Regions from separate parts of the Homo sapiens genome. Here region 2 is linked to region 1. The links are contacts of gene promoters, found by promoter capture Hi-C in human tissues and cell types (Jung and others, 2019). All regions are on one chromosome and are shown on one strand. Each heading gives the region's core, a stretch centred on a gene start or on the middle of the fragment in contact. The rest is flanking DNA. Distances are from core to core; before and after follow the strand shown.

Region 1 (6,412 bases), core at 2,530-5,029:
CCCTCTCCATACTCAGGTAGACCTTGTTAAAAAGAGATTATTTTTCCCCACAAAAATGTGTTAATCTAAGAATTGCTGTGTTGCCAAAGTAGATGATTATCTGCCAGTAACACAATTAGGGGTAATTAGGGGCCAAGAGCGGTGGCTCACGCCTGTAATCCCAGCATTTTGGGAGGCTGAGTGGATCACTTGCGCCTAGGAGCTTGAGACCAGCCTGGCCAACATGGCGAAACCCCTTCTCTAAAATACAAATACAAATACAAAATAAATACAAAATAAAAAATACAAAAATTAGCTGGGCCTGGTGATGTGTGCCTGTAGTCTCAGCTACTCAGGAAGCCGAGTTGGGAGGATTGCTTGAGCCCAGGAGGTTGAGGCTGCAGTGAGCCTTGCTTGTGCCACTGCACTCCAGCCTGGGCAAAAGAGCGAGACCCTGTCTCAAAAATAAAAAAAAGAAAAGAAAGATAAGTAGTTAGGCTGATCCAGGTTATGGATTGTCTTTTAAGTTTACTTTCTGGCTGATTAGGTTACCTAGAATAGAACTGGCCTGAAGTGACTAACATGGAAATAATGATAGTAACTATTTCATAAGGTGGTTACAACAATTAAATGTTACAAATTAGGTTCAGTGTTTACTGCTCAGATGATGGGTGCACCAAAATTTCACAAATCACCACTAAAGAACTTACTCATATAACCTGTTCCCCAAAAATCTATGGAAATAAAAAAAAATTTTTTAAATGATCTAATATAAGTGAAGCGTTTCATGCAGTGGTTCTCAGCTGGGAGCTGTTTTGTCACCCCAGGGACATCTGACAATATCTGGAAACATTTTTTTTCTTTTGTTTGTCAAAACTGGGGCGGGGAGGCCAGGTGTGGTGTTCATGCCTATAATCTCAGCGCTTTGGGAGGTTGAGGTGGGATGATTGCTTGAGGCCAGGGGTTTGAGACCAGCCTGGGTAATATAGTGAGGCCCCATCTCTACAAAAATTTAAAATTAGCCAAGCCCGGTGGCACATGCTTATCGTCCCAACTATTCAGGAGGCTGAGGTGGGAGGATTGCTTGGGCCTGGGAGTTCGAGGCTACAGTGAGCCGTGATCATGCCAGTGCACTCCAGCATAAGTGATAGAGACCCTGTCTTTTAATTTTGTTTTTTTTAATTAAAAAAATAAAAACTGGGGTGGAGAGGGCTGCTACTGGAACCAGCTGTTGAACATCCTACAATGTACAGGATATCCCGCACAACACAGAATGACCTGTCCCAAAATATCAATAGTGCCACCAGTGAGAAACCCTGGGTTAGTGCAGCATCAGGCACATAGTAAAAACTGTATTGGTGTTTGCTATGATTATTATTTTATAAGTGGCCCTTCTTGACAAATGTTCCCACACAGTCTGACAGTGGAGGTATAATGGAGTGTTGGGTTGAGAGTTAGGTTTGACACCTAGCTTCACCCTTTATTAACTATGTGACTTTTGAGCCCTTACTTGACTTCGCTATACCCCATATTCTTTGTCTATCCAATTGGAATAACAGCAACTCCCTGAGAGAGTTGCTGGGGAATTGGATAAAATAATTCATACAAAACATTCAACACTGCAGTAGCACATAGTAAATGTTCAGTAAATGCCATCGATTGTTGCTGCTGCTGTTGATCCAATAAAGACCTTTCCACAGAATATAGTGAAGGGATAGAGGACAGTTTCAACTAGGAAAAAAAATTACTCATATAAAGTATATAAAAGCGTATATTTCGTATATTAATAAATATGTAGAAGTTAAATTTAAACTATCCTTTTTAAGGCTGCTATTTATAATTTTCTAAAAAGTATATTGCTTTTGCTTTCCTAGGGTAGAGCACCTCCTTGATATAAAAGATCCTCTCAATTTTAAACATTTGTATCTAACACAGAATGCATAATTATTTAATTAAGACGTTTGGTCTTGATTAGAAATAGAAACACATTAAAGTATTTTTGAGAACCTGGATCTCAGATATGAAATATAAGACTTAGGAAAGTTAAACACTAGCGTAGTAGCAACAACCTCTTGTGTTTGAGATTCGTTAATCTCTTATTCCTTCATTGAAATAGGAAGGAGAAGCTTGCAGTGGGTAAGTAATTGCAGATTTGTAGCCATTTCTAGCAGTTCCTAGAATCCCCTTTATAATCTAATATTTGTGTTTTTAAAAAATAATCTAATATTTGTAAAAGTGCTTTGGAAATTGTAAAACAAAACTATGGAGATGTGGGCCATTAGTATTATCATCAACCCTAACAGGATGTTAGAGAGTCAGATGTTGCCACTTCAAGGGAGATGACCGAGTTTTGGTGCATTTCAGGAAGCCAAAATCAGGCTGCAAGTAAACTTTGTATTTAAGAATAAATGAGACCGGGCTTGGTGGCTCACGCCTGTAACTGCAGCACTTTGGGAGGCTGAGGTGGGCAGATCACGAGGTCAATAGATCGAGACCATCCTGGCTAACATGGTGAAACCCCGTCTCTACTAAAAATACAAAACATTAGCTGGGCGTGGTGGTGCATGCCTGTAGTCTCAGCTACTCAGGAGGCTGAGGCAGGAGGATCACTTGGATCTGGGAGGCAGAGGTTGCAGTGAGCCAAGATTGCACCACTGCACTCCAGCCTGGAGACAGATTGAGACTCCGTTTCAAAAAACAAAAAACAAAAACAAAAGAATAAATGATTAAATTGATAAACTATACATTATTTCGTGTAATATTAGAAATACAATGAAGAACTGTGTTTCTCTGCATAAAACTTTTAGGTACGTGTTTTATACTCTGTTACAAAATAGTTGGGTGGAAAAACTCCCACCATATACAAAATGAAAAGGCAAATGACAACCTGGGAAAAATGTTTGCAAAACATATGCAAAGATTTCATATTCCCAATAGAGAAAAAAGTCTTATAGATCAACAGGAAGGATATAAATGCTGCAATAAAAGACATGAACATGCAATTAACAAAAGAAATTCAAATTGCCAGCAAATATTAAAAATCTTTAGAATTACTGTCAACCAAACAAATGCAAATTAAACAATACTTTTTTTTCCTTTTAAATTGGCAATGGTTAAAATGTTTCTATCTTCTAGATGTACTATTTTCTGAACACCAGAATTCAGCACAGCACCTGGCACCAAACAGGATCGACAATCATTTAATAAGTAAATGAATGAGTCATGTGCATGCAACCTAGACATGACTGACATTCACCCTTTTATTTCTTTCTCTCTTGAGAAGGGATCTCACTCTGTCACCCAGGCTGGAGTGCAGTGGCCTGTCATGGCTCACTGCAGTCTCAAATTTCTGGGTTCAAGTGATCCTCAGCTTCCTGAGTAGCTGGGACTACAGGAGTGCACCACCACACCTAGCTATATTAAAATTATTTTTGTAGAGAGGAGGGCTTGCTCTATTGACCAGTCTGGACTCAAACTCCTGAACTCAAGTGATCCTTCTGCCTTGGCCTCCCAAAGTGCTGGGATTACAGATGTGAGCCACTTCGCCCAGCCCACCGTTTTATTTTTGTGAGTATACTGTGGGTTTATATTTATAAATTGGGTGGGGAGAAGATCCCCTTGCTTCTTGAGATCATTTATTTACCTTTCTTGCTTAGAAAGACAAATAAATGGTCTGAAAGTGCTTATTTGGGGGGTAGTTTTTTTTTTTAATGGGAAGTGACTCAAAAGTGAAGTCTCAGTTCAAGACCTTTTTTTTTTTTTAAGTCTTACTCAAAAGGAAGTGAGTATGAGGTGAACTGCATTAACCTAAAGTGCTGCAGAGATAAACTTAAAGCAGGAAGCAACATACCATGAATGTACTGCAAGGGAACACATTTGTGTCATGTGAAGAGACATGACAAAAACAGCCCTCCTTAAATTATTTGTGGCAATAGTGATCACATTCATTTTAATTTTGCCGGAATATTTCAAGACACCGAAAGGTGAGTATATAATTGTAATCTAGCTTTCCTTTCTTAATTTAAAAAAATTAGTGTCAGCTAGTGGTTACAGAAAAGATCCTCTTTTTGGACACATGCTGCATAGGCTGAAGTTCTAGATCTGAAAAACTAATAAAACAAGATTGCAATTTTAGTTGACTGTTATATAGTACAGTAACCTAATTCATAGTACTTAATTATCATAGCATACCTAAAAATGAAAATATTTAAAATCTGTAGTCTAGATTTCAGACATTGAGATTACAATAATTGCATCATGATTTTGCTCTTTGAAACACTTTCTTCAAAGCAGTTTTTTTTTATTTTTTTATTTTTTATTTTTTTTTTTTGAGATGGAGTCTCTGTCGCTCAGGCTGGAGTGCAATGGCCTAATCTTGGCTCACTGCAACCTCTGCCTGCCGGATTCAAGCAATTCTCCTGCCTCAGCCTCCGAGTAGCTGGGATTACAGGCGCCCACCACCATGCCTGGCTAATTTTTGTATTTTTAGTAGAGACACGGTTTCACCATGTTGGCCAAACTGGTCTTGAACTCCTGACCTTGTGATCCACCCACCTCGGCCTCCCAAAATGCTGAGATTACAGGCTTGTGCCACTGTGCCTGGCCCAAAGCAGCTTTAAGTATGCTTTTTACATTTTGGAATTCTTTAATGAAGAAAGTGATATTTATTGTGTTAAAAATGCTAGAATTCCCTTTACTACAACTATTTCACACAGATAACTTACCGTCACCTTTTGACAAGAAAAAGCGTTTATATATTTTGAAAATACAATCAAAATAAGGTGAGTGGAAATTTAAACAGATGTATGTGTATGTATTTGTAACTGGAGAAAAATGGAACAAAATTAACTTTGTGAACGTTTCAGAAAATTGTGATATAATTGCTGAAACCTAGATTAGGAAAATAAATAGGTATAAATTTAAACTATTTTGATGTTAGCAAAGGACTTGAAAATTTATTAATGTGAGGTTCAAATGGTAATTGTGCTCCCTAGCATTTAATAAGAAGAAAAGGTGAAAAGAAAAGGCTGTATTCTATCATTAAATAGTCTTTATATGAATTTGATTAAAATCAGAGAAAAACTCATATTTGATTATTTGCTGCAATGAATATTTATTGTTGCATATATGTAATGCTAAATAGCCAGATAAAAATATTTTTGCTAATTATATTTGATGACATATTTCAGTGATTATTTGATGTTGCATTTACATGATGCTAAGTAGCGAGTTAAAAATATTTTTGCTAAATAAACACTATGACTACAATTTGGTTTTCTGGCATTATGTTACTTAGATGAAGCAATCATAGCACATATTTTCAGTGCTTGATTCCACTGGGTGAAAATGTGTTATAAAGAGAATAGTTAGAATAAAGATAATCTATTTTTAAGATATTGTGGGCTGAGAGTAAGCTCATTTAATAGTTATCCGGAGTAGGTTCTATCTATATATCTATCTAGCTAGCTAGCTAGCTATCGATCTACACCTAGCACCTCTTAAAAATCAGGTTGGATCTAATAAAAACCAGGTAATCATCCCAAAAATGACTTAATTAACTATTGGTTAGTATTTTATGAGAACTGGTGACTACAGGAGCATGTTAAAGGTTTTCATTTTGGGGCAGACATGTAGTTCTTTTAGTTTTTGTTTCTCAAAGTGAGAAGCATGGCCTTCTGGGGCAGTGGTGAGCAGAAAGAAGATAGATGAAGCACAGAGAAATTCTTAGTGGGGGACAGATGGGAGCCCCTTCTATTGGTAGGTAGAAGAAAGAGCTCTTATAAAATCCATCTTAGCCAAACTTCCTTGGCCTAATAGTAATGTGTCAGTTCTTCTTCATCTTGTCAATAGTCAACCATCATTTATAATGATGTTTGTTCTCTTGCTTTCAAAACTGGTTATATCAGCTCCCAATACTACCTTTACTGCCTTCCCAAACTTAAAATGGCTGTTTCTCTTCTCCTGGTCCAAGAACAGCATAGATAATGCTCCAAACTCTTTCTGGGTTGATGGGTTGTTTTTTTTTTTTTAAGAGACAGGGTCTTGCTGTGTTGCCTAGGCTGACTCCTGGGCTCAAGCAATCCTCCTGCCTCAGTCCCCAAGCAGCTGGGACTACAGGCACATACCACCACACTCAGGTGGATTTATTGGGGAATTTTGTTTCAAAGGAACCCTACTTGGGGCCAACAAACAAAAATGTTCAAAAACCACTGTCTTCTTTTACATTATTTAGTGGTAGAAGGAATTTTGCACAGAGCTGCCATAAACAAAAAGTTGATTACTAGGCAAAATGTTATACACATGCAATTGTGTAATAATAATAAAATAATAATAATAAAAACCATTATTTTTTTCTAATGGTTTATGGATCACCAGTAACATCTTTTTATAGCCTCATTTAATATAGTCCCATATTGATTAAATGAAGAAAACT
Region 2 (7,102 bases), core at 2,697-5,196, 140 kb after region 1:
AATATAATCAGAAGTGGAATTGGTGGATCATATGGTAATTCTGTTTTTAGTTTTTTGAGGAACTGTTGTACTGTCTTCCACAGCAGCTGTACCATTTTATAACCCCACCAAGAGCACACAAGGGTTCCAGTTTCTCCGCATCCTCACCAACGCTTATTTTCTGTTTTTTTTTTTTAAAATAATCGTCATTCTTATACTGAAATATTAGTGGTAAAAAAATTTTCAAAACGTCATTCTAATGGGTGTGAGGTATTATCTCATCATAGTTTTGATTAGCATTTCCCTAATGATTAGTGGTGTTGAGCATGTTTTCATGTGCAGATTTAAAAAATAAAAATTTCATAATATTAGCAAGTCCAAAGAGTATAGAAACATAGATAACAGAAGGTGGGCCAGCCTCTTTCTGCTTAGATAGATTCCAGTAACGTAATAAGCAATAGAGTGTATGAGCTTATAAGGTCCTGTGGAAATAAGTAAGGCCTGCAAAAACTGATGGCTTTAAAAGAAAAAAAAATTGCAAATTAGATAGTAATTAATATTTACTTAAATGTATTCAAAATGTAATATTGGATCAGCTGGTCTATTATCATTCAAAGAAATTCAACTCCTACATAGTTACATATGTGTGTGTGTGTAGGAAATTTAATGAAAAATGTGGGTACATTCTAATGTATTTGCTCTGATATAGGAGTGACTTCTAAAAAAAGCAATGCTTGGAGCTTTTGAAAGACTTCCTTCTAAAGATAACAGTTCTAATTATTTCTTGTGATTCCTTTCAAGAATATAAAAGCATATTTACCTAAATATAAGTCTTCTGGACCTGGCTTTTCCCATTTGGCAGTTCACAGTTGAAGTCTCAGCACACACAGATAGTGCTGTGTGCTATGTGCTGCCTGGAATCACAGTGCTCATTCTCCTTGATTCTGGGAGTGTTGTCTACTGACAGCGCTCAACTAAATAAATGCCTCCCTTTGAATTGCCCTTGACCAAAGGGAGTTGGTTCCACCAAGACTATACTATAGTGACTGGTCAATGAGGGAGCTGTTGATATAAAGGCCCGGTGCTGTGGATTAATGGAAGACATCTCCTAAGAGTCATCCCAAACCCCAAGCTCCCAATGGGATAGGTTAAGACCTCTGCTGTAACGACACTGCAGTTCAGCTTCTCCCTTGGCTTAGTTTTGCTTCCCAATCCTTTGCTCTCTTGCAAAGCTTGTTCCAGAAAGCACTTCACAGTAAAACTCCAGCACACAATTTCTGACTCATCCCTCTGCTGGGCATCCAACCTAGAAAACTGATCTACCTTGGTCTTTTTAATGGCTGCATAGTATTCCACTGAATGGAGATAGATATATCTGTCTATATATATATATATAACATATATATGAAACTTATACTACATATATAACATATATTACATATATAACATATATATTACATATATAATATATAACATATAAATATATAACATATATATAACATATATATTACTCATATATATAAAGTACTGACTGTGTTTCAGACTCTTCTATAGATGAGTTCAAGATATTATAAAAAGTTGTGAAGAGCAATTGTTCAGAAAAGCACAAGTTGATACTGCCATGCTCAACCAAAGCGAACTATAGTGCAGCAAAAAGGGAGCCAATCAACCTTCCTTTGGAATAGTCTTTCCTCTCCATATGATGGTTGATGTCCACTCTGTAATCAGATGCTTACTTCCCTTTAGGCTCAAAATAGACAAGAAGTGTTACTGAACTGATGATATTTGCCCAGAAGTCCAACAGAAACTCATTAACCCCTGTGTTTTATTCATAGAATCTAAAGGACGATGGACAAACTCTAAGCATTATTCCTATTCTCTTTGTCTCAATGTTCCTTGAGAAATTTCATATCATCAGCAATGTCACCTTCAAAAATGAATCCATGCGCTATCGACAGTGATTTATACGGTGATGATTTCTCATCGTAGTATCATTTTGACAAGTTTGCCATTCTCTGTAATAAACACTGTCATTTCTGACCGGGCTGCTAGAAGAGTTTCATTAAAATGTGCAGAAGGAAAAAACTATGTACCTTGGGAGAGGATGAGTAAGGGGAACAATGATAATTTTGGAAAAAGTAAATATACATATCAGGTACATTCCGTACACACCAACCCCCAACCTCAGGTACTCTTGCATAAGATGTTTAAACTCATAAAACTGTCAAAACTAGAATTTCAAATAAACATTTAAGCCTTTGGTGGTATCTAGAAATAAATTACTGTATTCTACTATAGAGCTCTTCCTTTTGTATACTTATACATGTTTTAGCATTGTTGACTTTCATTTTGACTACTGGTCTATCACTCTTAGCCTAGTAATACATTTTGGAAGCAAGTCAGGTCTATAAGATCCTGTGGGATTTGGAACTACTATCAAAACCCTCTTTTCTTTTTTCTTTCTTTTTTTTTTTTTGAAACAGAGTCTTGTTCTGTTGCCCAGGCTGGAGTGCAGTGGTGCAATCTTGGCTCACTGCAACCTCCATCTCCCAGGCTCAAGCGATTCTTCTGTCGCAGCCTCCAAGCAGCTGGTACTACAGGGGCATGTCACCACACTCAGCTAATTTTTGTATTTTTTTTTTTTAGTAGAGATGGGGTTTTGCCATGTTGGCCAGGCTGGTCTTGAACTCCTGACCTCAAGTTGATTTACCTGCCTCAGCCTCCCCAAAAACCCTCTTTTCTAAAATGTTTTCTATTCTTGTGTCTGCCTGGAAATAATAACCAAGCTTACTTCATTTCACAAACTTGTCCAAAGGCATGGGTGACAGGTGATCAAATCTTCTAAGAATGTGATGACAGTGTAGCTGTAGTTGAGCCTAATGCAAGAGTTAAGTCCTCTCCAAAATAATTGTTGGCTGAAAAATGTTTGATTTTGTATAAGCATTAGGAAGGTCACTTTTTCTCATTTTCCCTTAACCTCAGAGTGAAAGAGTATTGAGGCAAAAGATAAAATATAAAAATAGAGTAGACATAATTTCAATTAATTTTCTGTATTTTTCCACTTAGCACAGTGGGCACAAATATCTTTCTCCTTCTATGCATAGACACAGGATATGGTATCAACATATTCTGGAAGTTGGAAGAGACCTTAGAATTTCTCCAGTTTTTTCACCCACGTTTTTCCATACAAAGAACCTGAGTCTTAGGTTAAGGGCACAGTGTAGCTAGTTAGTAACAGTGCCTTGTGATCACAAGTTAGCAGCATTCAGGACCAGGTCTCAGGTCTTATGACTCATGGTACAGTGCTCATTCCAAGAGATTACCATTTTTCAATTGTTTCTATTCTCCTGTTATTCTCCTGCCAACTCTCAACAGTTCTAACTATTCTAACTGCAGTTTTTCAACAACTGTTAGAGGTAATGGTTTCCATTTCTAGTGCTCAATTGACAGCTCTGTGTTTTGTTAATGTCTATATGTTTTGCACCCCTGTCTGCAGCTGGAATTACCCTGGGGGTATACATGAGGTTTCTGAGTAGACATCAATTGCAATTGAACATGTGGTTATTTTCTTTCCTTACTTTCCACAGGCAATTTATAAATCTTCAAAGCTTGTCTACTACTGTGAATGATCTGTTTTCCAATAAGTTTCTTTGCCTGATGATAATAAACTGCTAATGCTGTAAAGCCCTGGGGTTGACACTATGCCTGTACATAGCAGAAATTGTGCCTCGCTTGCCTCTCTCAATCCCAAGATAGTGGCTCAACATAGACCACAGATCAGGAAGGCACACATAACTTTAAATTCTCTGTTCACAGATCTTTGAGCCCCATTCCAACCTGTTTCAGGCTGTGAGCCTGGCTCCATGTGTGGGCAACTTATGATCCCTCTTACCTTTCAGCAGTCAAACTCCCAACCACCAGTGCTTGTTTCCAGCCTGGGAACCCATGACTTCAGCCTCCTGTTAGGCTACATGCTTTAGTTCTGTACAGGTCTACAAAGACACTTGTCCAATTTTGAAATATACATTGCTTTTGTTTTAACTACTATTACTACATAAAGTCACAGCATGTCCTCATCAGAAATCTCCAAAATATGCAGTAAGAGCAATTTAGGCAGGGTTTTCAGTTATACTTCTATTGCATTCATTTTGGGGGGAGGAGGTGGGTAGTGATGATCAGTGGTGATGAACAATTTTAGTACCTGCTTTTCTAAAGACAGCTCTAAAATTTCTCCAAAGGGACTTTTAGAATGAGCATCAATATTTCAAAATTTTAATGACTTTCCTCATGTACCCTTTGCCATTTTGTATGCAAACAAGAGAAAAATGCCAAGATTTCCTTGCTTTTCAAAATTCCAGCATGTAGCCAGAACCATAGAAAATACTAAGGTTCTGTAATTGGTGGTGTAACTGACAAAGATCTCAAACAGAGACGAGAAGAGAATTAAGGTAGGCGGGATGCACCACATGACAAACTTACGGTCAACGACGGGCCACATCTATGACAGTGGTCCCATAAGATCATAATACTGTATTTTTCCTGTGCCTTTTCTATGTTTAGATGTGTGAAATACACAAATACTTATTATTGTGTTACAATTGCCTACAGTATTCAGTACAGTAATAAGCTGTCCTATGTTTGCAGCCTCGGCGCAATAGGCTTTACCACATAGCCTAGCTGTGTAGGTCTGTGTATACTTTGGAGGTTTGCACAATGATTAAATCACCCAACGACCCATTTCTCAGAAGGTATTCCCATTGTTAAGTGAAGCATGACCGTATTGAGAGACGGCCCCAAGATTCTTGTCCCCAGATGTATACACCCTATGTGATCCCTTCCCTTTGGAGTGTGAGCCGGAGTGTAAACAGGATGGGATTTCACCCCTGTGATTAGGTTACTCTATCCAGCAATGATGGGGAGAATTTTCACATGTAATTAAGGTCCTTGATCAGTTGAATTTCAGTGACTCAAAAGAGAGATCATCCTTAGTGCGCCTGAACTAATCAGGAGCGTCTTTAAAACAAAGGGGCCCTTCCTGAAGGTAGCGATTTGAAGCATGAGAGAGATTTTCCTGCTGGCTTTGAAGGAGGACCTGAGGGCAGCCTCTAAGAGCTGAAAGTGAGCCCTGGTCAATAATCAGCAGGAAAACAGGGACCTCAGTCCTACAACTTCAAAATCTGAATTCTGCCAACAACGTGAATGACCCTGAAAGATGACGTCTTCAAAGCAGAGGTGCCAGCTGAGCAGCTGGCAGAGCCACTGGCCTCATCTTCGACTCTGGGCCCCCTTCTAGCTGCACCACCCTATCCTCCAGAGACTTTAAAGTTATGGGTGCCTTCCTGATCTGTGGTCTATGTTGAGCCATTATCTTGGGATTGAGAGAGGCAAGCGAGGAACAACTTCCATTATGTACAAGCATAGTGTCAACCCCAGGGCCATGCTGCCTCAGGTAAAAGTGAGCCTCAGATGAGAATACAGCTGGCTGCCACCCTGATTTTAGCCTGTTAAGCTCACATTATTTTACATGAGCAGCTGTCCCATACCTGAACTCTTGACCCACGGAAACTGTAAAATAATGAATGCATGTTGTTTTCAGCCTCTTTAACTGTGGTAATTCCTTACATAGCAACAGAAACTAATACAAGAGGGTATACTGAACTTCATTCTGATATTGCATGAGGAATGTGCAAATGTCATACACTCTCAGAGAAACCACGTGTTTACTCACCCTAGAAGAAAAGTGGCAAGTTTTTCCATCCACGGACTGACAGCTCGCCCATTGAATTTACTATCCAGCATCTTCTTAGGTGTCCTTTTGTAATCTGATCTTTGCATACGTGCAGATTTGGTTCCAGTGGACTGTGCTCCAAGGCCTCTAGGTTTTGTTACTTGGTTCAAATATAACCAGTAGATGGTGCTGACATTACTACTTAAAAAGCGGGATATTATTTTTCATGGCACAGTGACCATGTGACTGGCACAATGCTCATGATGGCCTACAGGAATTTACCTCTCTAGGCTCTTCTGGATCAATGATTACTCAGAGCCAGATGCGAACCATCACAATTTATAAATTGTTGTGAGAGTAACAAGATGCAGTATTTATTATCTGCATGGTGGCTCAGACACAGAGAAACTTTAAGAGCAACCCCAAACACAAGCACAGGCCGCAGATTAAGACAATGACGTCGGATCAAGTCAAAAGGGACCTGCTGTGAAAAATCACACCCTGCTTTTTTTTTTTTTTTTTTTTTTTTTTGAGACATACTCTCATTCTATTGCCCAGGCTGGAGTGCAGGGGCGTAATCTCTGTTCACTGCAACCTCCACCTCCTGGGTTCAAGCAATTCTCCTGTCTCAGCCTCCCATGTAGCTGGGACTACAGGCACCCACCACCACGTCCAGCTAATTTTTGTATTTTTAGTAGAGATGGGTTTTCACCATGTTGGCCAGGCTGGTCTTGAACTCCTGACCTCAAATGATCCATCCACCTCGGCCTCCCAAAGTGCCGGGATTACAGGCGTGAGCCACCATGCCTGGCCACATCCCACTTTTTAAGCAGTAAAGTCAGCGCCATCTACTGGTTACATGTGAACCAGGTGACAAAACCCGGAGGCCTTGGAGCACCATCCACTGGAACCAAAGCTGCATGTGTGCAAAGGTCAGATTATAGCAAGACACCTAAGAAGGTGCTGGATAGTAAATTCAATGGGAGAGCTGTCAGTTCATGGACAGAAAACCTTGGGAGGGTCCAACAAAGCCCAAAGTCAAATGAGGTACAGACACTGAATGAGAAACAACAGCAAATGGTCTGACCAACCAGGGCTAGAGCAGTTACAGGGAGATGCACCTTTAAGTGTGCACAGAGAGCACCTATAGCTGCTACCACAGAGCAGATGATTTCTGTGTTTACTGTGGCAGGAACTTATATTTAAAAGTTTAATGAAAGAGTAAGTCCTCCATCTATACTAGAACCCTCGAACCACCAATTCATTATAAACCAGAGTGGTTTGGATGCGGTTAAAACTGGAAACATCCAGGACACATGACTGTTTTATGATATAAACCACGAGAAGAGCTGTATAATTTTAGTGACCATATTATTTACTTTTTCATGACTTATT

Evidence for each region. The method cuts DNA at HindIII sites, captures the fragments that hold promoters and counts their contacts. A contact is called where the count stands out against the background at its distance.
Region 2: a fragment that was not itself captured here is called in contact with the fragment with the promoter of TMEM156 in region 1 in 1 of the 25 tissues and cell types used here (H1 embryonic stem cells).

Annotation. Positions count from the first base shown.
Region 1 is chr4:39,029,776-39,036,187 of GRCh38, reverse strand. TMEM156 (transmembrane protein 156) reads left to right here and starts at 3,779. Exons shown (of 7, transcript NM_024943.3): 1 at 3,779-3,962. The coding sequence starts at 3,875. The HindIII fragment of the contact is 30,825 bases long and covers 1-6,412 here.
Region 2 is chr4:38,893,299-38,900,400 of GRCh38, reverse strand. The region is part of intron 4 of FAM114A1 (family with sequence similarity 114 member A1); the gene reads right to left. Among named protein-coding and RNA genes, the nearest start is that of MIR574, 29 kb to the right of the region's middle. The HindIII fragment of the contact is 3,916 bases long and covers 1,989-5,904 here.